5 separate regions of the Homo sapiens genome follow, and all the other regions are linked to region 1. The links are contacts of gene promoters, found by promoter capture Hi-C in blood cells and fetal thymus (Javierre and others, 2016). All regions are on one chromosome and are shown on one strand. The core of a region is centred on a gene start or on the middle of the fragment in contact, and the rest is flanking DNA. Distances in the headings are between cores, read along the strand shown. Region 1 holds the start of FOXL2 (forkhead box L2). Region 2 overlaps LOC124909438 (a long non-coding RNA gene). Region 3 overlaps MRAS (muscle RAS oncogene homolog). Region 4 overlaps MRAS (muscle RAS oncogene homolog). Region 5 holds the start of ESYT3 (extended synaptotagmin 3).

The links. Contacts are between HindIII fragments. The CHiCAGO score rates a contact against its expected background, and 5 or more counts as called.
Region 2: a fragment that was not itself captured here is called in contact with the fragment with the promoter of FOXL2 in region 1 in 1 of 17 cell types (erythroblasts); the score reaches 5.7 in erythroblasts.
Region 3: a fragment that was not itself captured here is called in contact with the fragment with the promoter of FOXL2 in region 1 in 1 of 17 cell types (megakaryocytes); the score reaches 5.0 in megakaryocytes.
Region 4: a contact is called between a fragment that was not itself captured here and the fragment with the promoter of FOXL2 in region 1, in 1 of 17 cell types (fetal thymus). The highest score is 5.1, in fetal thymus.
Region 5: the fragment with the promoter of ESYT3 here is called in contact with the fragment with the promoter of FOXL2 in region 1 in 6 of 17 cell types (megakaryocytes, erythroblasts, fetal thymus and 3 more); the score reaches 10.5 in megakaryocytes.

Annotation. Positions count from the first base shown.
Region 1 is chr3:138,945,791-138,948,623 of GRCh38, reverse strand. FOXL2 (forkhead box L2) reads left to right here and starts at 1,487. Exons shown (of 1, transcript NM_023067.4): 1 at 1,487-2,833. The coding sequence starts at 1,902. FOXL2NB (FOXL2 neighbor) reads right to left here and starts at 1,407. Exons shown (of 3, transcript NM_001040061.3): 1 at 1,160-1,407. The coding sequence starts at 1,259. RefSeq lists a silencer at 1,243-1,471. The HindIII fragment of the contact is 4,318 bases long and covers 1-2,833 here.
Region 2 is chr3:138,333,793-138,336,625 of GRCh38, reverse strand. All of the region lies in intron 1 of LOC124909438 (a long non-coding RNA gene), which reads right to left. Among named protein-coding and RNA genes, the nearest start is that of NME9, 5.4 kb to the right of the region's middle. The HindIII fragment of the contact is 234 bases long and covers 1,308-1,541 here.
Region 3 is chr3:138,359,286-138,362,118 of GRCh38, reverse strand. All of the region lies in intron 1 of MRAS (muscle RAS oncogene homolog), which reads right to left. Among named protein-coding and RNA genes, the nearest start is that of MRAS, 12 kb to the right of the region's middle. RefSeq lists an enhancer at 1,195-2,029. The HindIII fragment of the contact is 3,177 bases long and covers 1-2,833 here.
Region 4 is chr3:138,379,105-138,381,937 of GRCh38, reverse strand. The region is part of intron 2 of MRAS (muscle RAS oncogene homolog); the gene reads right to left. Among named protein-coding and RNA genes, the nearest start is that of MRAS, 32 kb to the right of the region's middle. The HindIII fragment of the contact is 6,595 bases long and covers 1-2,833 here.
Region 5 is chr3:138,433,271-138,436,103 of GRCh38, reverse strand. It overlaps ESYT3 (extended synaptotagmin 3), which reads right to left and starts at 1,488. Exons shown (of 23, transcript NM_031913.5): 1 at 979-1,488. The coding sequence starts at 1,305. The HindIII fragment of the contact is 865 bases long and covers 1,071-1,935 here.

The DNA of each region.
Region 1 (2,833 bases), core at 238-2,737:
AGCCACTCCAGACATGCCAATCACTAATGCACAGCTATATGACATCCATTCAGTCCACCTTCCTCCATAAGGTGGCCTTGCCCCCCTCCTCAGCACCAAGGAGTTTGGGGCTTGAGGATTCAAAACACTGGCCATCTCTCTCATACTTTATGACTGCAGACTTTTTGTTTAGGCCAAGTTAAAAGGCACTGTTAAGGAGCACACTGTTAAAAGGCACACCTGATTTTCCCTGAAACAATCTCTGTACATGCTGAAATAATTGGATTCCCATCAGAATTCTGCTTAAGGTAGGTGACAACTAACTCCTGATTCTTTGGAGAAAGATCAGAACAAATGTCTCATCAGGAGAGAGATTTGAACAAGTCCCTCCCTCAGCCTGATGTTTGTCTTCCCAGTCTGTGGCAAAATACATACACTGGGAGGGAAAGAGGCATCGAAGAATTGTGAAAGAAAGGAAGAAAGGGGGGAAGGAAAGAAGTAAGAAAGGAGAAAAAGAGAAGATGCTATATCCACCAGCTACATTTACTCTAATACTTGATGAACATATTACATAACTATCAGTATAAGTGTGTTTTACCTCGTAAATACAAATCTCACACCTTGTACATGTGCATACCTGTGTTTCTGAGCAGCACACATGCACCTGGTATCTCACCCATCTCAAGGACAGCTCCTCTCCATGACTTCCATATGTGACCCCTGTGCACACACATACACAGTCCCGCAAAGTCCCGGGCAACAGCCCCGCCTGTGTTAGTGCAATAGCTGAGGGGCATCTACTTGGTGCTGTTAAAGCACACATCCAACCTTCACTCCAACCCCGTAGGATTAGTACACGGATTCCTGGTTCCTAGATCCACTGGTAACGCAGGGAGAGGCAGAGGTGATTCAGGCGGCGCCCCTGACGACTATTTCCAGAGATCCTCTCCCCTGCCCCATTCCAGCCCAGTCACTCTGAGAGCGCGAGGGACAGGCCAGGCCGAGGCTTCTTCGTACAGTCACACCCGTTTCTGGGCTGACTTTCCCAAAGCCTCAGAGCAGCTCTCCCCACCCTACCCCGTCCAGCCCCCTCGCCGTCTCGCCCCTCCCCAGCCCCGAGCTAGAAGTTCAGCCTCAAGACGGCAGCAAACGGCAGAGCAAAGGAGTCGTTTTCTTTCACCTGAAAGCCGCGAGGAGGCTTGGAGCGCCTTTCCTCGCTGGGGCCCGAGCTTCCTGGGCTTTGGCCGGGTGCGGGCAGACCCCACCGGGGTCCTCGTCATCTCCCAGCCCAGCCCGCAGAGCGAGTACCGGCAGATTTCAAGGGCGCGTGAGCCTGGCTGTCGGCTGGGCCCCTGAGGCTCGCTGGGCGGGGGCAGGCCGGTCCAGGCTGTGCGGGGCGTTTACAAAAAGTGACTTGGAGATGAACTCGCCCGTGCGCGGCTGGCCGCCCCGCTATAGGGGCGAAGGCGCCTGACGCAAGCGGAACTCGGTGGAGCCCATACGAATCAGAACAGAGCGAGGCTCCTGGCGCACTAGGGACTCCAGGAGGCAGCTCCGCCAGAGACGCGGGTCGTGCTTCGGGAAACCGGGGGGCGGGGGGAGGGGAAGAGCGCAGAAAAGAAAACCCACCAAGGCGGGGACTGGCCTGAGCGGGGAGGGGCGGCGAGGCCGGAGCCCCTCTCTGTTGGGCGGACTCCCCATGGCCAGAGGCTGAGCTCCACTCCCGCCGGCCGCTCCCTAGGGGAAGGGGAAGGAGAGGGGAGAGCAGCGACAGGCCTCCAGCAAGCAAGCGCGGGCGGCATCCGCAGTCTCCAGAAGTTTGAGACTTGGCCGTAAGCGGACTCGTGCGCCCCAACTCTTTGCCGCGCCAGCGCCTGGAGCGGAGAGCAGAGGCGGCCCGGCCGCGGCGCGCCGGCTTTGTCATGATGGCCAGCTACCCCGAGCCCGAGGACGCGGCGGGGGCCCTGCTGGCCCCAGAGACCGGTCGCACAGTCAAGGAGCCAGAAGGGCCGCCGCCGAGCCCAGGCAAGGGCGGTGGGGGTGGCGGCGGGACAGCCCCGGAGAAGCCGGACCCGGCGCAGAAGCCCCCGTACTCGTACGTGGCGCTCATCGCCATGGCGATCCGCGAGAGCGCGGAGAAGAGGCTCACGCTGTCCGGCATCTACCAGTACATCATCGCGAAGTTCCCGTTCTACGAGAAGAATAAGAAGGGCTGGCAAAATAGCATCCGCCACAACCTCAGCCTCAACGAGTGCTTCATCAAGGTGCCGCGCGAGGGCGGCGGCGAGCGCAAGGGCAACTACTGGACGCTGGACCCGGCCTGCGAAGACATGTTCGAGAAGGGCAACTACCGGCGCCGCCGCCGCATGAAGAGGCCCTTCCGGCCGCCGCCCGCGCACTTCCAGCCCGGCAAGGGGCTCTTCGGGGCCGGAGGCGCCGCAGGCGGGTGCGGCGTGGCGGGCGCCGGGGCCGACGGCTACGGCTACCTGGCGCCCCCCAAGTACCTGCAGTCTGGCTTCCTCAACAACTCGTGGCCGCTACCGCAGCCTCCCTCACCCATGCCCTATGCCTCCTGCCAGATGGCGGCAGCCGCAGCGGCTGCAGCAGCTGCGGCTGCAGCCGCGGGCCCCGGTAGCCCTGGCGCGGCCGCTGTGGTCAAGGGGCTGGCGGGCCCGGCCGCCTCGTACGGGCCGTACACACGCGTGCAGAGCATGGCGCTGCCCCCCGGCGTAGTGAACTCGTACAATGGCCTGGGAGGCCCGCCGGCCGCACCCCCGCCTCCGCCGCACCCCCACCCGCATCCGCACGCACACCATCTGCACGCGGCCGCCGCACCGCCGCCTGCCCCACCGCA
Region 2 (2,833 bases), core at 175-2,674, 610 kb after region 1:
AACCAATCCCCTAGGCCCTATGTAAATCAATTACTGCCTCCTCAATCCTCTTTACAAAACTGATCGCATTCCACCCCAAACCAAAGACCCCCTCTTGGGTGACCCGCTTTCTCAGTATGAGGAAGTTCTCTTTCTCCTCTTCTTTGTCTATTAAACTTTCCACTCCTAAACCCACTTCTCATGAGTGTCGGTGTCCTGAACTCTTTCTTGGCGTGAGACAAAGAACCACAGGTAAATCCTGAGACAACGGAGCTGTTTCACCAGCACTTTGGGAGGCCAAGGTGGGAGGATTGCTTGAGCCCAGGAGTTTGAGACTAGCCTGGACAACACAGCAAGACCCTGTCTCTACAAAAAATTTAAAAATTAGCTGGGAATGGTGTCATTTGCCTGTAGTCTCAGCTACTTGGGAGGCTGAGGTGAAAGGATTGCTTGAGTCCTGGAGTTTGAGGCTCAGTGAGCAATGATGATTGGGCCACTGCACTCCAGCCTGGGTGACAGAGTGAGACCTCAAAAAAAAAAAAAAAAAAAGCAGCAGCAGCTTAGGTAAGAGCCATTCCCTGCCACATGAACAATGTGGCCTCTCAACAGGAGATAGTCACAATGACATTCTGCCACCCATAGCCTGGGGCCAGCTTCCTGAGCATCTCTCAGTAACCGAGCCCCAGTTTGTAAAACAATGGAAAAATGATCTTCATTTGTGGTCACATGTTTTCATGAGTTTTAGTACTTGAAATATTGTAATACCAAGTCAAAGAAAAAAATTGCCTGGATGCTGAATTTGAAATGCAGGGCTTGCTTGCTCTAATTTAGCCCAATTTTCTGAAATCCAGTAGCATCATCCAGTAGCATCACGTCAAATGTCTTGACAAACAAGACAGTTAGAAAACACTTTTAAAATCCCTGATGGCTAGAATTTTAAAGTGTTATTTTTACATTAAAACAAATACGGATGTGGTATGTTGTATTCCATAAAATGCACACAAATCTTTGAGTTAAATATTAGTGATGTTTAGAGATCTCTAAATGCTTAAGGCCTTTTAGCATTAAGCCCTCAAATCTCCAGGGCAGCCATTCAGGAAACTTTGGGTGAAACACTGGAGGAGTGTGGTCCTCGATAATGAGGTCTTTGTAGCTTGACTGAAATCTAGCTCTGCCTCAAAAGTTTCAAGTGTATGGGCAAGGAGTTCTAATGGGAGGTTGGAAGAGCATGCTCTCTAGGAGGCTCAACAATCAAGGGCAAAGTTCATTACCTCTAGGGAGGTGTCAAGAACTGTAAATCATCTGAGATTTTACCCTCCTTGCAAGCTTACAAGTTATTCTTCCATAATCATGGATGCTGAAAGAACATATAAGTCGCTCCTGGGTCAGAGATGAAGGATAGTTTATTATTCAAAGCAATAGCAATAACCAAAGTATTAGCATTTTTGCATAGGTTTCCTGAACTGATTCCCATAGGACAATGCAGAGAGGGCCAGGTGACACCTGCACATGCAGCAGGTTGTGTTATAGGAGAAGAATCCTAGCTTCAAGAAACCAAAGCTTTTACACTGAAGAGTTAAGTATGCTTTCTACAGAAGGAGACATTATCTCTAACTTCCAAGGCTGTAAACAAACCTTTCCTTTGCTTTAGAAGGAGATACTACCTCTATCTTTCAAGGTTGTTCACTATATAAACATTCCTGGAAAGGCTGTTGGGAATAAAGCAGTCAGTGCCTCTGCTTGAAAAATATGCAGATGCATGAGAGACCCATGGAGAAACATCGGTCAACAGGAGGGACCTATGGTCAGCTTCCTCTACAACATGTAGAAGTCTCCTTGTCATCTCCTCTGACTTCTCAGTAAGCATGAATGGTGGGCAGCATAGGGCTCATTCGTTCAGGTCATGATGGAAACCTGAGGTTCATTAAAAAAGATTCACTAGGAAGTAGCTGGGACAACCTGCCCTACAGGGACTCACAATACAGATGAGCAGTTTGATTGTAACCCCCAATGACTACTACGACACGAAGAAAATGCAACACAGTCCAAGGCAGGTTGTTAGGCTCAGACTAGCTGCTTCCATTTTATGGCTCACTATCTTGTGTTTTCAAAGTTACCCTCACAATCAACAAAGAAACTACCAGCACTAATAAGTGAGTTTAGCAAGATCTCAGAATACAAAGTCAATATACAAAAAATCAGTTGTATTTCTATGTACTGGCAGCACAAAATTGGCAATAAATTTTGAAAGTCAATTTCATTAATAATAGCATAATGAATACAAATGACTTGCAAGATTGGTTTAACAACTATAAAACATTGCTGAAGTTAAAGAATAAATGGAACACACATCCTATTTATGGACTGGAGGACTCCGCATTATTAAGATGTCAATTCTTCCCAAGTCAATCTTTAGGTTTAATGCAATTTAATCAAATTTTCAAGAGGATTTTTAAAGACAGACATATTAACAGATTGACTCTAGGATTTGTATGAAAGTAAAAGAACTTAAAATAGACAAATAATTTTGAAAAAGAAAAACAAGGTTGGATGACTTAGATTACCTGATTTTAAGACTTACTATACAACTAGTAATCAAGTACTGGTATAAGGATGGTCAACTAGATCAGCGGAATAGACTAGAGAATCCTGAAGGAAACTCACACTTACATGGCCAGTTGGTTTTTGACAAAGACACCAAATCAATCCAGTGAAGTAAAGGAAAGTCTTCTCAGCAAATGGTGCTTATGCAACCAGAAATCCATATGGGGAAATAAAAAACCTCATATCCCACTCAAATATTAATTTGAAACAAATGGTGATATACTGAGACCATGGAATACGAAGTAATAAA
Region 3 (2,833 bases), core at 210-2,709, 590 kb after region 1:
GCTACTTGGCCACCTGGCCTCTGGGGTCCTACCCCAGCCCCTCACAGTGCCCCCTGCCCAGCAACCAACAACCGGGAGGGTGGGAAAGAACTCAGTCCAGGGATGAGGGGCAGGGCGTGGGCTCTGTGAAGGCAGAGCTGCATCAAGCTCACAACTTCTTGGAGTGGCAGCTGAGGAAAGAGAGTAGGAAGTGGTTTTATTTTTCAATCCTTGTTCTCAGTCCCTGGGGGTCTATTAATATTTTCCTAGCACTGGGGCAGTCTCACCCGCAGTGAAAGAGGAGGACTCCTGCAGCCTTCCATAGGAATCTGCGTGCAATTGGGAACGTCATGCTGGTGGTCACTCAACCAGGGAAGGCCAGCCTCTGCACACTCTGGGGTTCCCCAGACTGAGCGCCCTTGGCCTCCCCAGAGCCTGGCAGGCTGCTGTCCTCCCAGCCCTGCTCTGACTCCGCTTTGCCCTCTGCTCACAGAGCCCCGCACCTCCTCACTGTTCTGCTCCGCTGCTCAGGCTCAACCCTGCACAAACTGGATTCAGCCAGCACCTCCCTCACCTGCCCAAGGGTGGGCCCCTTTGCCCACCTCTCTGCCCCAAATTCTCTTCCTTTTTCTCCCTTGGCAGTGCAAACAGCCCTTTACCCACATCCCAGGCCAAGGCCTAGCAAGGCTGTCCACCACTGTGGCCCATGTCTGCCCCCGGCCTGAGCAACCACCACTAGCATTGTCCCACCCACCACTCCAGCATTATCACTCCCCAACTAACCCAAGCACAGAGTCTCCTGGAATGCCATCCATGAAGCTCTCCCCGCTGACCACAACATTCTAGGCCTTTCTTGAGCTGCCCAAGTGCCCCCTTCCCCTCGCATGGCCTCTGCTCTGCTGATTCCTGGTCTGGTGTCCTCAAGGACAGGGATGGTACCCAAGTGTCAGGTCCTATCCCCCAGAAACGATTCCTTCCTCTAAGGCCCTCTTCTATCCCCCAAGGTCTCCTTCCACTGAGCCACCTTGCTTCCATCTATGGAATGCCAACCAGGTGGCAGGTGGCAGCGCAAGTGCTCCGCAGCCATTATTCCATGTGATGACTCAAGACGCTTCACCAAGAGGCATTGTTTAGCCCCTTCAGGAACCGTGAAGGTCAGAGAGGCTCTGTGGTTTGTCCAAGGCCATATCTCTGACCTGAAAGCTCGGCATGCCCCTCTTCATCTGCCCTCAAATCTAGGAGCTGGGTGTTACTTCACAGTCACATTCCTCTGCTAGTGGGACAGTGGACAAAGGGCCAGGCCTTGTCTTCTTTTTCTCTGGGCATCCCAGAGCCCTGGCACAGCTTTCTGCTCAGAGACGCTCCAACGTGTCTGCTGTCTGCATTTCCAAATGCAGGAGTGATACTGGCAGCTGGCTGGGAGTCTGGCTTGGGTAGACAGTAGGACAGAGGTGATGTGGGCACTATGCCATGGGCCACACAGGACCTAGAGGACTGCAGTGGCAGGCCTCACGAAGGACATACCATGTGAGGAGTCCCACTGGACACCCGTGGGCACCAGCCCAGCAGGAGGAGTGGCGATGAGGGGTCCTTCCTTGCTGTCCAAATTCCCAAAGCACTGAGACCCCACCAGCACCCAGGGCATGGCCCCCTGACTGGCCCTGCCTTCTGAGCTGGGGATGCCACACCCAGCCCCCAGAGTACAGCTAAGGTTGTCCCTTAACTCCTTAGCTGTCCCAGCCCAGAACTGCTCATCTCATGGAATCACGGTGTTCCGCCAGTTCAATCTGGTAAGCCCAGGAGAAGAGCAGGGTGGCAACAGAGAGGGAACGGAAGGCCCGGATCCCAGGGCCAGGCATCCCTCTGCATCTCACAGGCCCCTGCCTGAGAGACGGATGCTTTCTGACTGATCCCCCCATCTCAACTGCTTTGCCCTGCAGTAGCAGCAAGAGGGAATCAAGAACAAAACGGACATCCCAAAGTCACGTGCACGTGCCGGCAGAGGCTGTGTCAATAAGTGATAGAAGGGGATAGGTACAGGCAACAGGGAGCAGTGGGGCCTGTGCAAACAGGAGATTACTGACACCCCGCACCAGCTGACTGCTGCAACATAATATCTGCAATGAGCTTGCCAGATAGTCTAAATTTTTAAAGAATAGCCAGCAATCTGAGTCTATGCAAAAACTCAGATTTCTGGCTATTTTATTATTTTAAATACTGGCCACCAATGAAAAAGTTTTACACATTGTGTAACCCAAATAAATCAACACTCTGTACCCATCCTTCTTGAGCACACACACATCTGAGTGGCACGGCCGTTCTAAGGCAGACAACTCTTCGCACTGCCTTGGCTTGGCCTGGCTTTGGTGCAAGGAGGTGTGAGATCAAAGGAAATGATCTCACTGAAGAGAGCAGCAGCAGGGGTTACTTGGCCTGCAGGACATGGGCCAGCCTGGCATTCTTCAGGGACAGGCACACAGCCCACCCCAGGAGTATGTCAGAGCCCAGAGAGGTGGAGGCCAAAAAGGCACATTCAAAAAAGGCTGCTGCTTTGCTGTGTTTTCATTATTTATATTTAAGATGTTAGACACCATTAATGAAGAATGTGAAAATGTTTATGCTTGACCAAAAATAAGAAAGACATAGGGTCTAGGTTCTTCCTTGAGGTGGGGAGAGGCAATTCAACCTTCATTTTTAAAGAGTAACCAGACTGCAGAGAGACGGACTGAAGCCAAATAAAAGGGAAACTTCCTGAAAACGAGGCAGGCATGGCAATGAGTGTGAGATTTTCCTCTGCAAAGGTCTGTGAAGCAGATGCGGAGGAAGAAGGACTGGCCACCTAGCTTTGGAGTGG
Region 4 (2,833 bases), core at 204-2,703, 570 kb after region 1:
AGGAAAAAAAAACTCAGTAAACGTTCCTTTTCCTCTCCCTGCCCTTCAAATGTCCTCCTCTCCTCCTCGTCCCCAGAAAGAATGTGGATTCAAGTGTGTGGGGGAAAAGCCAGGTTCAGGCCCCTCTGAGAAGACAACAGCACTTGTGTCTGAGGTTTGGGCAGAAGCCAGGGTGGAAATGTCCCAGCTTCTGATGGTGCAGGAGAAGAGCCAGGCTTTTGCTCTTTGAAAACACTGGGCACTTGCTGGGGAGTCGGAGACAGAGAGGTTGCGGAGCTGGGCCCAAGAACCCCAAGGTAGGAAGCAGTGTCTGGAGACTCAGGGCCCACTGCTGTTCTCCACCGATGGAAGAAAGATGCAAAGTTCCAGAGGCTGGCTGGGCAGAGGGCGGGGCTGGGAGCCAGAGGGTGGGGAGGCCCAGAGACATCTGCCCTGTTGTAAGTGAGGAGAGGATTTGGTCAGCATCCCACCTTAAAGGCCCAAGGCCTGGGCCAAAGCAGGAGGTAGTGGGACAGGGTGGAGGACACGCTCGGCAGAGTCAAGAAGCCCAAAACCTGGCTCTCCAGCTAGCTAGGTCTCACCCTAGACTAGTGACCTCTCCATCTGTACCTCAGTTTCCACAATTGTAAAGTGAGGGGCTTAGCAGCCTTCCATCCCTAACCAACAGAAAAAATAGGCACACAAGAACTCTAAGACGAAAGAAGGAAAGCAGGGACTCAGATATTTATATACCATGCTCATAGCAGCGTTATTCATAACAGCAAAAAGGTGGAAACCACCCAAGTGTCCATCCACAGATGAACAGATAATGAAAACATGGTACATCCATACAGTGGAATATCATTCAGCTTTAAAACGGAGAGAAGGCCGGGCGTGGCGGCTCATGCCTGTAAACCCAACACTTTGGGAGGCCGAGGCGGGTGGATCACGAGGTCAAGAGATTGAGACCATGCTGGCCAGCATGGTGAAAATGCTACCAGTCTCTACTAAAAATACAAAAATTAGCTGGGTGTGGTGGCACGTGCCTATAGTCCCAGCTACTCGGAAGACTGAGGCAGGAGAATCACTTGAACCCGGGAGGCGGAGGCTGCAGTGAGCCGAGATCACACCACTGCACTCCAGCCTGGCGACAGAGCGAGACACCGTCTCAAAAAAAAAAGAAAAAAAAAGGAAAGAAATTCAGAACATGCAGCAACATGGATGAACCTTGAATAGATTGTACTAATTAAAATAAGCCAGCCACATAAAAGGACAAATATTATTCCACTTATCATAGCACTCAAATGAGGTATCTAGATTAGTTAAATACATAGAGACAGAAAGTAGAAGCCGGGCGCGGTGGCTCACGCCTATAATCCCAGCACTTTAGGAGGCCGAGGTGGGTGGATCACCTGAGGCCAGGAGTTCGAGATCAGCCTGGCCAACACGGAAACCCCATCCCTACTAAAAATACAAAAATTAGCCAGGCGTGGTGGTGCACGCCTGTAATCCCAGCTCCTCAGGAGGGTGAGGCAGGATAATCACTTGAACTCAGAAAGCGGAGGTTGCAGTGAACCGAGATCGCACCACTGCATTCCGGCCTGGGTGACAGAGTGAGACCTCATTTCAGAAAAAAAAAAGAAAGTAGAATGGTGGTTGCCAAGGACTGAGGAGAGGGGAAAATGGGGACTTAGTGTTTAAGGGGCAAGGGATTAATAACCTGAATATATAAGAAACTCAAACAACTCATTAGCAAAATAAAATAAAATTCTGATTTAAAGGGCAAAAGACCTGAATAGGCATTTCTCAGAGACAAACAAATGGATAGCAGGTATATGAAAAAATTATCAACATCGCTAATCATCAGAGAAATGCAAATCAAAACTACAATGAAATGCAAATCAAAACTACAATGAGATAACATCTCACCCCAGTTACAATGGCTATTATCAAAAAGACAAAAAATAACAAATGCTAGGGAAGATGTGGAGAAAAGAGAATGTTTGGATACTGCTGGTGGGAATATAAACTAGTATAGCCACTATGGAAAATGGTATGGAGATCCCTCAAAAAACTAAAAATAGAGCTACCATATGGTCCAGCAATCCTACTGCTGAGTATACACTCAAAGGAAAGGAAATCAGTATATTGAAGTGATACCTGCACTCCCATGTTTATCATAGCGCTAGTCACAATAGCCAAGAGTAAGGAAGCAACCTAAGTGCCTTTCAATGAATGAATGATAAAGAAAATGTAGCATATATACACAATAGAATATTATTCATCCATAACAAAGAATGAGGCTGGGCGCAGTGGCTCATGCCTGTAATGCCAGCACTTTGGGAGGCCGAGGTGGGCAGATCACCTGAGGTCAGGAGTTCGAGACCAACCTAGCCAAGATGGTGAAACCCCATCTCTACTAAAAATACAAAAATTAGCCGAGCGTGTTGGCAGGTGCCTGTAATTTCAGCTACTTGGGAGGCTTAGGCAGGAGAATTGCTTGAACCCGGGAGGGGGAGGTTGCAGTGATCGTGCCACTGAACTCTAGTCTGCCCAACAAGTGTGAGACTCCGTCTCAAAAAAAAAAAAAAAAAAAAAAAAGACATTCTGTCATTTGCAGCAACATGGATGGAACTGGAGGTCATTATGTTAAGTGAAACAAGCCAGGCACAGAAAGACAAATATTGCATGCTCTCACTGATATGTGGGAGCTAAAACAGTGGATTTCATGGAGGTAGAGAGTGGAATGATTGACATCAAAGGCTGGGAAGGGTGTGTGGGTGGGGGGATGAAGAGAAGTTGGTTAATGGGTACAGAAATACAAAGAGAAGGAATAAGTTCTAGTATTTGATAG
Region 5 (2,833 bases), core at 239-2,738, 510 kb after region 1:
CACACCTCACTTTACAGACTACTGTCAGGAGGAACCTATGGCCCTGCTGGACTTTATAGGCCACAGGCTAGAGACAGTGAGGGGTCTGGCGACCTCCCCCGTGGGCCTGAGAGTAACTGGAAGAAATCTGAAAACGAAGAGCCCCAGCACCGGAGAGACAGTAAGGGTTTGCCGCAGACCAACCATTGGACGGAACACCCCTCTTGCCGGTGTTTCCCAAGCTCACCTAATCATAAGAATCACCCAGGATACCTCTGTGCCACCCTGGGAGTTATGCAATGGGGCCCAGAACTTGGGTTTTGTTAGGTAAGCCAGGACCAGAAGCGTTTGAGGAATCGTAGTGCCGCCCATGCCGCCCCAGGAGATGGGTTTGTCGGGGCAGTGTGCGTGTGCCGGCATCCCTATCCGGCGGAGGGAGGGAGGGAAGGAGGCCCGGGGCCCGGCGCCGTCGGTCTCCCAGCCGTACCCGCCACTCCACCTCCAGCCCCGCGGAGCCCTCCCCCTACCGCAGTCCAGGCCTCGGCCGAAAGCAACTGGGCCCGCCGTTTCTGTCACTGCGGTATTTGCCCATCTACGTTTTGCGTCCGGCGTTCGTTCTCTGAATCAACAGGCGGGTGGAAGAAATGCCTTCTGATTCCAACCCGAGTAAGTCTGCGAAGTCCCAGACGCCCTTGTTTTTCTCCCGGGTGTGGTCTGCCCGTGACTCTTCTCTCGAGCTCTGGGGCCTTAAATGAAACCCAAGTTCCCCACTCCCACCGCAGTCGGACCAGAGGTGGACGTGAGGGTGCTGCGCGCCGCGGGAGGGGCGGTCACCGTCCCCAGGGTCTGCGCCCCGGGAGCGGTGGGGAACGGGGTGTGCAGGTCGCCGGGCTCCCGCCCTGCCTCGGGTTTGCGCGCACCAGCTCCCCGCTGACCGCAAGTTCCTCCGAACCTCGAAAGGCATCTCCCCACCTCCCACTCCCACCCGGCTTGGCTCACCCAGGCTGGCAGGTGCTGGCCCCGCAGCTCGCGGCTGATGAACTCGCGTTCATTGTCAAGGAATTCGAAGGCGGCGGCCAGGCGCCCAAGCTTCCCGCGGCGGTTCCTGCGCCACCACATCCACAGCAGGGCGCCGAGCAGCAACCAGGTTATGCTGAGCCCCAGGTAGCCAGCTAGGTAGACAGGCCCCAGGTAGAACAGCACGCGCACCACGAAGGTACAGAGCTCGGGCAGCAGCTGGCTGGACAGGCGCAGCTCGGGGCCCGGCGTGCGCTGGGCTCCCAGGGCGCTGGGGGCCCCGGGGGCGCAGGGCTCCTCTGCTCGCATCTCGTCGCCGCAGTCTTGCCCTTCCCGAGAGCTTCACCCGAGCTTAGGTCCGCATGCCCCCACGCCCATGCGCATCTGTCTCCCAAGCTCGAGGACCAGGACGCCGCGCCCCCTTGCCCTGCTGGGACTCTCGGCGCGCCGAGCTCAGGGTTCTCTGCGACGGAGAGCAGCGCCTGGAAATGCACCGCGCCGCGCCGCGCCGCCCCAGTTCTCGGCTCCAGTGAGTCCGCAGCTCCGGAAGTCTCCGCCCTAGAGGGGCGGGCCGCCCGCCTGGCTCCTGCCCGCTCTAAAGAGCAACCAGCCGGTGAGCTCGGCCTCCGACCCCAGCACGTGGCGCAGGCGTCAGCCGGAGGTGTGCACTCGCCAGTCCGGGTGGACCAAGTGCTGCCCTAGGTGGTTAATGACTCACCAACACCTGTGTACAACTGGCTTATCATGGATAAACATCACCTAAAACCTGTTTCCTACACGCGGTCTATAATACACAGTATAGTCTGGACTCAGCTGGCATTCGAGGCCCTCCCTGGACAGGCTCAGCCAGGCCTCCCCAGCCTCAGGTCCTGCGTCCCGGCCCTCCAACTGGCCCCTAGAGCCTGCAACGCTGCCAGCTCCTCTGGCATCTGTAAAGCTTGGACCTAGCCCCCAGCCTCACCAAGCCGAGCTCAGGGCCCCTCCTGCGCGCCACAAAACCCTCTGCCCCTCTCTCCCCATCCTCTCTTCTAGGTGTCTGTTTGGATCGTCATTCCCTGCATCATCAGACGGGGAACTTCCGGGGACCGGCCCGTCTTGGCCATCTGTGGGGCGCCCAACAAGGGCAAGCGACCGGCGAATAAAAGGAAAGATGAAGAGGAAGCCCCGAGGTGCCTGAGAGTCAATGGTGAAGCCCATGGTTTCTAACCCTTTAATGATCAGAGCAGGTGGAGCTCCGAATCTCTTAAGTTCGGATAGTAAATCGTCTTGCGGATAGCATATATTTCAGACGGCCACATGAAAGGGCTCACATCAATTACTGGAATGTGATTTTGGAGTTGACAAATGTACCAGAGTGATTTGGAATGACTCTACTGTTTCAACAGCTTTATCGAAAGGCTGGAGCCGATGGATAGCAATCAAAATATTCTCTTTCCTTTTCTCTCTCTCCCTCCCTCCCCCCTCCCCACCCCGCCCCGGTCTCCCGTTCTCGTTCTGACTCTTGCTCTGTCACTCTCTTTTTCTCTCTCTGGCTTTATCCTCTCTCTTGGATAAAATTACTTACTGCAATGAGTTTTTTCAACAATACGTGAGTTCCTGGTGGTCAGAATACCTGGACCCTTCTCTATTGTTCTTGGCTTTCCAGGACTCAGCCAAAACAGAGGCTTAAAGTCCCCCAACTTAACATTCTCCCAGTGTAGCCTGGGAAATCAACGGAAGAAATGCTGCTCGCTGGAGTTCCTTCTTGAGAGTTGCATGTACACAGTCCTAGTAAAGGCTCTGAGAAGTCCTTCAGACAAAAAGTTATTAAATTCTATTTAACCCAGTGTTTCCCAGA